Linked DNA regions of Homo sapiens: all the other regions are linked to region 1. The links are contacts of gene promoters, found by promoter capture Hi-C in blood cells and fetal thymus (Javierre and others, 2016). All regions are on one chromosome and are shown on one strand. The core of a region is centred on a gene start or on the middle of the fragment in contact, and the rest is flanking DNA. Distances in the headings are between cores, read along the strand shown.

The links. The method cuts DNA at HindIII sites, captures the fragments that hold promoters and counts their contacts. A CHiCAGO score of 5 or more calls a contact.
Region 2: a fragment that was not itself captured here is called in contact with the fragment with the promoter of TRIM62 in region 1 in 1 of 17 cell types (M0 macrophages); the score reaches 5.8 in M0 macrophages.
Region 3: a fragment that was not itself captured here is called in contact with the fragment with the promoter of TRIM62 in region 1 in 1 of 17 cell types (M2 macrophages); the score reaches 6.4 in M2 macrophages.
Region 4: a contact is called between a fragment that was not itself captured here and the fragment with the promoter of TRIM62 in region 1, in 1 of 17 cell types (endothelial precursors). The highest score is 6.0, in endothelial precursors.

The regions. Positions count from the first base shown.
Region 1 is chr1:33,180,748-33,183,408 of GRCh38, forward strand. It overlaps TRIM62 (tripartite motif containing 62), which reads right to left and starts at 1,296. Exons shown (of 5, transcript NM_018207.3): 1 at 278-1,296. The coding sequence starts at 685. It also overlaps a transcript of ZNF362 not described here. RefSeq lists silencers at 71-270, 861-930, 1,161-1,470. The HindIII fragment of the contact is 3,969 bases long and covers 1-2,661 here.
Region 2 is chr1:33,611,459-33,614,119 of GRCh38, forward strand. All of the region lies in intron 40 of CSMD2 (CUB and Sushi multiple domains 2), which reads right to left. Among named protein-coding and RNA genes, the nearest start is that of ZSCAN20, 140 kb to the left of the region's middle. The HindIII fragment of the contact is 3,817 bases long and covers 1-2,661 here.
Region 3 is chr1:33,564,730-33,567,390 of GRCh38, forward strand. All of the region lies in intron 53 of CSMD2 (CUB and Sushi multiple domains 2), which reads right to left. Among named protein-coding and RNA genes, the nearest start is that of ZSCAN20, 93 kb to the left of the region's middle. The HindIII fragment of the contact is 1,919 bases long and covers 382-2,300 here.
Region 4 is chr1:33,456,761-33,459,421 of GRCh38, forward strand. No RefSeq gene overlaps it. Among named protein-coding and RNA genes, the nearest start is that of ZSCAN20, 15 kb to the right of the region's middle. The HindIII fragment of the contact is 645 bases long and covers 1,032-1,676 here.

The DNA.
Region 1 (2,661 bases), core at 46-2,545:
ACTTCTCCCTAACCGCGGACCAGCCGGTACTCCAGGTCTGTCTCAGATCCCTCAGGGTCCGGACTGCCCAAGGCCCCGCCCCCACGGCCCCGCCATGCGGCGGCCCCGCCCCTCCCTGCCCCGCGTTACTCCTGATAGGGCCCTGACCTTGCTGGCGGCCCCGCCCCAGGACCATTCTGACTGGGCCTGGCCCGCGGTCCAGCCCTGACCCCACCCCCCGCCCGGCCCCACCTCCAGCCCGGCCCCGCCCCTTCCCCAGGCAGGCCGGGTAGCGCACCTGCAGCTCGTCGAAGGCGTCGTCGATGCCGGTGACCTGATGCTGCTCGTGCAGTGCAGGCTCGTCGCAGAAGAAGCAGAGAAGCGCGCGGTCCGTGAGGCAGAAGAGCTTGACCTTGTCGTGCGCCTGGCAGGGTCGCGCGGCGCGGCGCGCGTTGAGGATGGCGTCCAGCGGGAAGGAGCTGTAGCGCTCCACGATGTTGGCCAGCTTGAGGCTGGGCGCCAGCGCGGGCTCGGCGAACGTGCGCCGGCACTCGGGGCAGTCGCGGGCGCCCTGCGCCTCCTGCCGCACCCAGTGCTCCGTGATGCAGCGGCGGCAGAAGTAATGCTCGCAGCCCAGGCTCACCGGGTCCTGGTAGATGCTCAGGCAGATGGAGCACAGCAGCTCGTCCTTGAGGCTGCACGCCATGGCGCCAGGGGCAGCAGAGAGGGGGGCCCGAGGGGCAGGGGGGCGGCTGAGAGAGCGCGGCGCTGTCGGAGGCAGCACCGAGGGCTGGGCGCGGGGACGAGGCCCGCACAGGCAGGGGTAGGAGCTACCGGAGAAGGGAGGGGGTGCTGTCCGGAAGGAGGGTAACGCGAGGAAGGGGTGCGCGGCTGAGACTCCGTGGGACGCCAGCCCGGGAGGGCAGTCTAGAGGTAGTGGGCAGCTCAAGGCGATGGGCGCTGGGAGGAGGCTGTGAGCGGCTGAGGGACGGAGATCCTGACGGGGAGGTTCTAGGGGGCGGGGCAGTCCTAAGGGATAGGAGCTGGGAGAAGGGGATCCCGGAGCGGGGTGGAGCCCTTAAGGGGGTCGAAATCCCGGGGTGGGGGCGGTGCGGGGAGGGCGAGAAGCTGGGGATGGGGAATCCTGGGGGAGGGGGCAGCCAGGCCGAGCCGTACATTGGCTGTGACCGGCAGAGAAGAGGAGGGGTGCCGGCCCGCTCAGCTGCCGGATCCCGGCCCCAAACCCTGGCCCAGCGCGACCCCTTACCCCCGCGAGCTTAGCAGCCACCGCTTCGGTCCAGCGCAGCCTCTCAACCCGGAACCAGCCGAATCCGAGCTGCCGGTGGCCGCGGCTGCCTCCCCGCCCCCGTGGGCGGGACCCAAGCAACTCCGCCCCCGCAGCGGGCGGGGGAGGGGCGGGGCCACCAGCCGGTTGACCCCGCCCCACCCCCACCATCCTCCAGCTCCCAGGGAAGCGAAGCCCAGCTGTTCCTTCGGGGTGTGTACTTGGAACTGCATCCAGGTCTCGCTTAGGGTCCCCGCGGCGAGGCGGAGCAGCTAATTTGAGAGCACAACAAATAAACAAGGAGCATCTTTCTGGATCATCGATTTGAAGATGTAGAAAAAATCATATTTTGTATTAAAACGAACAAGAATATATTTGGAATACAACTTCTGCATAAAATATAAAGATAAAACTCTTGAAATGCCCTGCTTGCTTAGAGCGAGTTCAAGGCCCTCACACTCCTAAGCCCTGGGGTCCCATTTCCTCTTCACTTTCTTAAGGAGTGCTTGGGGAGAAGTTTGGAAAGCCCTGGCTAACATCTGGCCCCGGAGGCTGCCTCCATTGGCAAACAATTCTGGAGTGCTGTATTTGTGTGTGTGTGTGTGTGTGTGTGTGTGTGTGTGTAAGGCGGTGAGGGGTGGAGCAGGAGAGAGGGAGAAAAAGTAATAGGAGAACTTGTCTTGTGTGCCAGATGGAGAGGGGATAAGGGATTTCTAGGCAGAGGAGACAGCCTGTGCAAAAGCATAGAGGCGTGAAAGGGGAGGGCGCAGTGAAGGAAGTGCTAGTAATTCTGTACTGTTGGGGGTGGGGTGGAGAAGGAGCCTGGGTGGGCTGGAGGGCATTGTGGGTCATGGTAAAGAATTTCTTGAAGGCATGGGGCTTTCAGGCAAGGGAATGACCTGGTCCGATTGGGTTTCAGGAAGTCTTGGAGATAATCATTATACCATCTGCAAGGTGAAGAAGACAGGGAGCTTTTCCAATGTGTCTGCGGATGCACAGCACTCAGCACACAGTAAAGGTGTGTAGCTGAATAACCGCATCAACGCCCTGGGTTGCAGGAGGAAGGAAAGACTGGGCACCCCTAAGGTGCTGTTGTCATCGTGCCTGCAGGAGGTGAGACCCGAACTGGGGCCTCAGCAGTGGGTAAGGAGAGAAGACTAGGGTATTGCAAGTACAGACACGGTGACATTTGGTGATGGTTGGATACGGGGGTGAGGGAAATGAGCCATAGAGGGTGGCTACCAGTTTCTGCCTCCTCCAGAAATATCTTCATTGGTGTTAAACTTTATTGAGGTACAGTTTATGAAAAAGCTCTCAGTTTAGTTCTCTATGGTTAACACTTTCTCCATCACACCCTCATCTGGCCCAGAATCTCCATCATTGCGAGAAAAATAGTT
Region 2 (2,661 bases), core at 100-2,599, 430 kb after region 1:
TCAAAAATAAAGGCATCAGTCATTTCAGAGCTCCACTGGAGTTCATTTTATTTTGTTGAAAACAAAGTTCAGGGTCAACACTTGTTTAAATTTATGATTCATATGTCCAATATCAGCATAAAGATAGTTTTGCTAGAATAAACTTTTCATTTAAAAATAACACCCCCAATACTTAATCAAAAGACAAGACCTTCAATACTGCTGTTTTCTAGAACTCTTATGATAATTCAGAAACGTAGGGCTTAGAAGTATACATTGTCCCCTCTGTTCCATAAAGAAGCCAAATAAAGTTTCTACTTTGGGATCTTAGTGAGTTAATCAAGACATTCTAGCAACCTGACAGGTTAAATAAATCTAATTAAGTTCTTAATGTACATAGTAATATACTCTTTCAAGAACGAAGGTGGGAACATTTATGTTTGTTTACTGATAAGATTTTTCAAAATTAGATCACCATGGAAAATGTTATTGAAGAAATATATTTACTGAGCATAGGAAAAAGCCCATATTGCATTGATAATTGTAAAAATCAGATGACAAATAGTATGCTGTATACAATTCTAATTTTTGTATTATAAAACATGGAAGAATATTAATTTGCCTGCTAGGAATATTTGCTGGGCATTTGCTGTACATCAGGGCTGTGCTAGGCATTGTACAGGATGAGCAAGATCAAGAAGGTCCTTGTCTTCATGAGACTTACATGGTAACGCTGGGAGACTAAGCCATTAGTGATTATCGCTGCACGATGAGATTATAGATGGATTTTCATTTTTAAAATTGGCTTATCTGTGCTATCAAATAAGCTCAGAATAAGCACGAGTATAATTCTTTTTGCATCTGATCATTTAAAGAATAAAATAAAGACTCGACACTTAATGTTGAAGATCTTTCATCTCCTGCCCTGTTCCATTCCTTTCCTGCCCTCCACAGAAGCAATCACATGAATTTGGAAGCTATCCTTCCAGTTCATGGTTTTGGATTCTTAAATATGTATCTGGGTTTATGTGTTTTCAAGATTTACATAAATGATATTATACTGTACATACAGTTTTTTACATAATATTGTGTTTTTCAAGGTCTATCCATGTTAATATACAAAAATATAGTTCATTCATTTTAACTGCATGTTAATTCCATTTTATGAATTATCCAACCATACAGTTCACTCCCCAACTCATGAACATGCAGATTGTTTCCAAGTTGCAGATAATTTTGTGATGGTTTTTTTTTTTTTTTTTGAGACAGAGTCTTGTTCGGTCGCCCGGGCTGGAGTGCAGTGGCACGATCTTGGCTCACTGCAAGCTCCGCCTCCCGGGTTCACACCATTCTCCTGCCTCAGCCTCCCAAGTAGCTGGGACTACAGGCACCCGCCACCAGGCCCAGCTAATTTTTTGTATTTTAGTAGAGACGGGTTTTCACCGTGTTAGGCTGTGATGACATCTTTGTATACATTATCTGAGGAGCCTGTGCTTTCCATTCCACTGCCCAGGCATCGTCCCCTCATATAGGAGCCCTGCGGGCTGCAGGCCCACAGAAGGGGCTCTTTAAGGATGGCGGAATTTCTGACTTGAACTCCAAGGAAAGAACTGGACTGTGACCGCCATCTAGTGGAGCAGCATGTAGCTGCAGCAGCTCTTTACACGCTGAGACCAGGTACCAAGTTAGGGACCTCGGCAGAATCCAACATTAACTTGAAAGCAAGGGATCCCGGGCCTTTGCAACTGGACCCAGCAGTAGCTTCTTCCCTGAAACCTGAATTAGCACCCAGAATTTAGAGGTGAAAATGGTGGCTGAACATAAGGACTTACAGGGAAAGCCACCTCATTCAAACTTCTGTTTGCCTTTGGATGTTGCCCTCCCCACCTTCTATCATCTTGGTTCTGCCTCAAGACTGGATGCAGAGGTACAGGGTCTCCCAGATCCTCTTAATGTCTCAAAGTCTGGAGTCTCCTAAGACTGCCGAGGGCGTCATCGCTTTGCTCCCAGTTTCCTTCAGAAGATGGTACTGAACACCCAGTTTCCTTCAGAAGATGGTACTGAACAGAAAATAACATCTTTCAGAGGGCCACCAAGCTCTCTCCTCCCCTCCAACCGGATTTAGAGAAGGCCAGTTAGACTGCTTTCTCCCAAAAGCCCCTTCCCTAATCTCTAATCACACTCCAGGCTGAATAATGAAGGATAAAATGGGAGATCTTCATTTCTGAGGCTCACAGACTGGCATTCAGGGCTATGCAGGCATAATCCCCTTGGGACATTTCATTCCTAGAAGCAGTGCAATGGCTTGGGCAAGATGACCCGTGCGTACGGCCCATCAGTTCCATGTCAGCACAAAGCCCTCATCCCTTCAACAGAGACATTTGGGTTAAATGATATTCCCAGTGCATAATATGTGGATCACCAGCAATTACATTTTGTACCCACACTGATGTCCTCCACACCCTGACAACCTCCCATGCCTAGCATACTCCAGCTCCAAAAACAAAACAAAACAAAAATAACCCCCCAAAACCAAAAAAACAACCTTCCCAGTCTCTAGGCCAGCTAGAATGTGCATACGAAGAAGAATGCAAACTCGATTTCTCATTGATTTGGCTCAATTTAATTAGGATGATAAATTAGACACTGGGGTTAAAAGTACAACTTGAGGTCCAGTCTCTG
Region 3 (2,661 bases), core at 91-2,590, 380 kb after region 1:
AAGTTATTAAGACTAATTTCAGGCATTGTTTTTTGAGAAGTTCTCATTATTTTATGGCCCCATCCCATATATAAAAAGCCAAAAGAAGAATTAAAATAAAAAAACTGCCTTACAAAAATTAAGAAGGAAAACTTGCACTTTACATAAAGGCTCACTTTAGGGAAATTTAAAAAGTGAAGAATTATCCAAATTACTTCCAGGCAGCTAAGCATAACAGTGATTGCCTAAATCAAAAAAATGCAGATTAACCAGAAGAATAAATAATAGAAAACCCAGGCCTGCAGCCTAACTAGAAGCCAGAGAGTGCTACAAACTTTAAATTACATGTAAGAGAAATATACACTAAGCCCAGGCAGAGTTACTTCTCATGGTTCTGTTGCAAGCTTTTGTGGAGAGCAAGACTGTATGAGAAAGAGAAGAGAGGAGCAGGTGAAGGGCTTAACACTGATCTAAAATCACTGCCAGAAGGAGAAAATCCATCTCATATATGAATATACTGAAAACAAATCTTGGTATGTCAATGTACAACCACAGAAAAGGGACATAAAAGTGTGTGTGATTCTCCCTCATTGCTTCTGGAAGAAAAGAAAGTGACATCCTCTGAGTGATAAAGGGAATAAGAAGCAATGATGGGAAAACCTGGGGTTCTGCAAGACAAAAGAAAAACACGCAAACAAACAAAAATGAAGGACACACAACCTCTTCCTTACCACACACAAAACCTTATATTAAAAAAAATAAATAAACAAAACAAAGGCAAACATCCAAGATAATCAAAATGAGATAAAGAAGTAAAAACAATCAGAGAGAAAGACTTTGTAACACTGACAGAAGAGGGTACTACTAAACCACACTAAAGCCATAAAATGAATAGAAGACATCAACCTAAATGTATACGAAGCTACTTTAAGAAAAAAATAGAAAAGAATTCAAGAATTTCATCTGATGAAAACCTCCTCACCAAAAACAAAACATGTGAAGCGTAAGAAAAATGTAGCAGCATTCTAAACTGAACTAAATATTCTCAAATAAGCATCTGGAGATATTTTAAAAACCACCATGAAAATCAGAAAATCAAAAACTAAACAGCACAAATGGACAAAAGGTGGAAGAATATAAAAGATAACTGATTGTATGCTTTAAAGAGATAAAAGAAAAAGACAAAACCATCTGAGAAATGAAGACTAAATTATAAGAGGCCCAAGAAAGAATATTCTCAAATGATAATTTAATAAGAGTTACTCAAGAAAGTCAGGCAAAAAACCAAGGGAATTAAAATGAGATAAAGAGGTGAAAATAATGAGAGAGAGGCTGAGAGAGAAGATAGGCAAAGAAGATTCAACATACACATAATCAGAGCTGATGAAGAAGAAAAAAAAAACAGTGGGAAACAAAGCAATATCAGTGTTTAAAACCATAATCCAAGAAAAGTCTTTGGAAATAAAGAAAGACCTGAATCTATATATTCAAAGACCCATAGAATACCTAAGGAAATTGTCTTGGAATAATTAACTCTGAAGCATGTCCTAGTAAAAATATTAGACTTTAGGATAAAGGGAAAAATAATCAGGAACCTCAAAAAAAAAAAACAACCAAATAACCTATAAGAAAAATAGAATTAAACTAATATTATAATTCCAAAAGTCAAATACGTAGAAACAGAGAGCAGAATGGTGGTTACCATGGGTGGAGAAGTGGGGGAAATGGGAGACGGCAAAATTAAGACCGAACATATCAGTCATATTAATATATGTGAATGAGTTTAACTAACCAACTAAAAGAAAAAGATGGTTAAGTTAGCTTATAAGGCAATTTATACTGCATACAAGAATCACACCTAAGAGAAGCAGAAGGCTAAAATAGAATGGTCAAAGGTGCATCAGGCAAAAGAATTAAAGCAGGGGTTGTAAGCCTAATATCAAGCAAAGTACAATTCTAGCTAAAAAATGTTAAAAGTGACAAAAAAGTAATCTTTAAAGGCTAAAAACCACAATGTGCAATGGAGATACTAGTTATGAATATCTATGCACCAAATAAGACAGCAACCATCTTTATAGAACAGAAACTACAGGAAGTGCAAGGAAAAACAGAAACACACTAATAATAGAAAACTTTAAACACATCTCTCAGAATAAAACAGATTGAGTGGGTGAAAAGTAAGAATGTAAAGGACATAGACAACATAATCAATCAGATATATCTCATGAATATATAAATAAAACATGACATCCTAATATCCTTTCTTCTCAAGTGCACATGGGACATTCATAACAACTGACCAACTATTAGGTCACAAAGAAAGCTTCAGTCAATTCCATGAAGTAGAAATATTACATACAATGCAATAAAATTAGAAATGAATAACACAATGAAAAAAAAGGGCCTTCCACCTAGAAACAAATCCTTCTATTAAAAATTTTCTATGTAAAAGGGGAAATCAATACCAAAATTACAGAATTTCTAATAAATAATAAACATTTATTATTAGACTCTATAGGATACAATTAAAGCAGTGATCAGAGGAAATTTCATAGTCTTAAGCACTTATAGCAATAAAACTCAATAGAAATGAAAGAATGAAAATAAATGAATTAAATTCCTACTCAAAAGCTAGAAAATGAACAAAAATGTAAACCAAAAGAAATCACAAGGAAGGAAATA
Region 4 (2,661 bases), core at 104-2,603, 280 kb after region 1:
TGTGCCACATACATGTATACACATACACACATGTGCACACAGGTATCAAGTGCCTCCTATGCCTAGCACTTTGCGTCATTTGACACAGCCACTTGGTATATAATAGTCATTTTGTTTTGTTTTGTTTTATTTATTTATTTTGAGACAGGGTCTCACTCTGTCATCCAGGCTGGAGGGCAATGGTGCAATCACAGCTCACTGCAGGGTCTATCTCCTGGGCTCAAGTGATTCTCCCACCTCAGCCTCCTGAGTAGCTGGGACTACAGGCATGTGCCACCACGCCCAGAAAATTTTTGTATGTTTTTGTAGAGATGGGACTTCACCATGTTACTCAGGCTAGTCTCAAACTCCTGGGCTCAAGCAATTTACCTGCCTTGGCCTCACAAGATGCTGGGATTATAGGCATGAGGCACCACCCCTGGCCTATAACAGTCATTTTAAACTGAGTACTTTAAAAGTTGAACTAATTCTTCTAAATCTGTTCTCCCACAGTCTTGGCATCATCCTTGACTTCTCTTTCCTCACACCCCACGTCCAACTCATCAGCCAATGCTGTCAGTTCCATCTTCAAAATATATCCAGAATTTAACCATGTCTTAACCTCTTAATCCCAAGTCTATCACCAGGGTTCAAGCCCACATTATCTTACACCTGACTTAATGCAACAACTCCTCACTTATCCCTCTGCTTCTGTCCTCATGCAACCACCACTATCCCCAGCAATTCTGCTCTTATCATAGCAGCCCGAATGATTCTTTGATAGTATAAACAGGCTTGTGTCACTCCTCTGATGAAAACCCTCTAATGACCCCATATCTCATACAGAATAAAAGCCAGAGTCCTGACAACAGTCTACGGCGCCACCCTGAGCGGCTATGCCCTGCAGATGTCTCTGATTTCATCCGCTATCCCTCTTCTGGCTCATTCCACTTTAGCCGCCCTGGCCTCCTGGCTTCCACCTCCCACCTTAGGGCCTTTGCACTTGCTGCTTCCTCTGCCAGAGAGATGGGTGGTTCCCTCTCCATTCTTCAAGCTTCTGTTCAAATGTCACCTCACTAGAGAGGTCTTCTTAGACACATTACTTAAAATTCTACCTTGATTCCTACCCTTGTTTCTCCCCATCCACCTTCATTGCTTTATTTTTCTTTCTTTCTTTTTTTTTTTTTTGAGATGGAGTCTCGCTCTATCACCCAGGCTGGAGTGCAGTGGCGCAATCTCGGCTCACTGCAAGCTCCGCCTCCCAGGTTCACGCCATTCTCCTGCCTCAGCCTCCCGAGTAGCTGGGACTACAGACGCCCGCCACCACGCCCAGCTATTTTTTTGTATTATTAGAAGAGACGGGGTTTCACTGTGTTAGCCAGGATGGTCTCGATCTCCTGACCTCATGATCCGCCTGCCTCAGCCTCCCAAAGTGCTGGGATTACAGGCGTGAGCCACCGTGCCCGGCCCATTGCTTTATTTTTCACCATATAACTCATGATTATATAATATATTGTATATTTACTTTAAAAATTGTCTGTTTTCTCCCATTAAAAGTAAGCTCCACAGTCTCAGGAATTTTAGATGTTTTGTTCACTGCTTATTCCCCACCACCTAGCGCAGTGCCTGGCACATTGTTGGGTGAATAAATAAAAACTACAATTGTGCTTCTGTCACCTTCTCCTTATAGTTCTAAAAGCTTTGATGTGTGTGTTTTGTGGCTCTAGTAATAGAGCTTTTATTATTTCCACATGATCCTCTTTAATCACTTAATGATTTGTCTTAAATTCTATTTTGTTTTCATATTATTGTTATTATTACCAAATTATGTCTTTTCATTGTTGGAAAGACTTCAAAGAGTTTTATTTTGTTTTAGGTTCAAAGTCATGCTATCTGCTAAGAAAATAGGGTGGGAGAACAGAGCCTCTCAATGTCCTGGGAGTATTGTTTTGTCTCAGGCAAAAGTTCCTAACGTGGTGACTCATATTTAAAACCATCAGTCTTGTAGCATTAACTCATGGTTAGTAAAAACAGACACACACACACACACACACGCATGCATACACACAGACACATCTACAAACAACAAACCTTCCAGAATACAAAAGCAAAAACCCATCACAGGTGGGCAGAGCTTACCAGGGAAAGAGAACAGCTACTGCAAAAGCCCTTAGGTGGAGGTGGGCGTGGCCCTTCTGATCAGCAGAGAGAAGGCCAAGTGTGTTGGGAAAGAGAGAGAGAGAGATGGGGGGAGTTGCATGGTTGGTATTCAATGGTGGGTGAGAACCAGCTCAGGTAAGGCATTGTAGGTCAGACAAAAAAAAATTATAAATGTGATGGGAAGCCATTGAAGGGCTTAAGCAAGAGAGTGCTGTGATATGGTTTATATTTTTATTTATTTATTTATTTATTTATTTATTTATTTATTTATTGAGACAGAGTCTCGCTTTGTCTCCCAGGCTGGAGTGCAATGGTGCGATCTTGGCTCACTTCAATCCCTGCCTCCCAGGTTCAAACAATTCTCGTGTCTCAGCCTCCTGAGTAGCTAGGATTACAGGTGCCTGCCAGCACACCCGGTTAATTTTTTTTTTTTTTGTATTTTTAGTAGAGATGGGGTTTTACCATGTTGGCCAGGCTGGTCTCAAACTCCTGACCTCAAGTGATCTTCCCACCTTGGCCTCC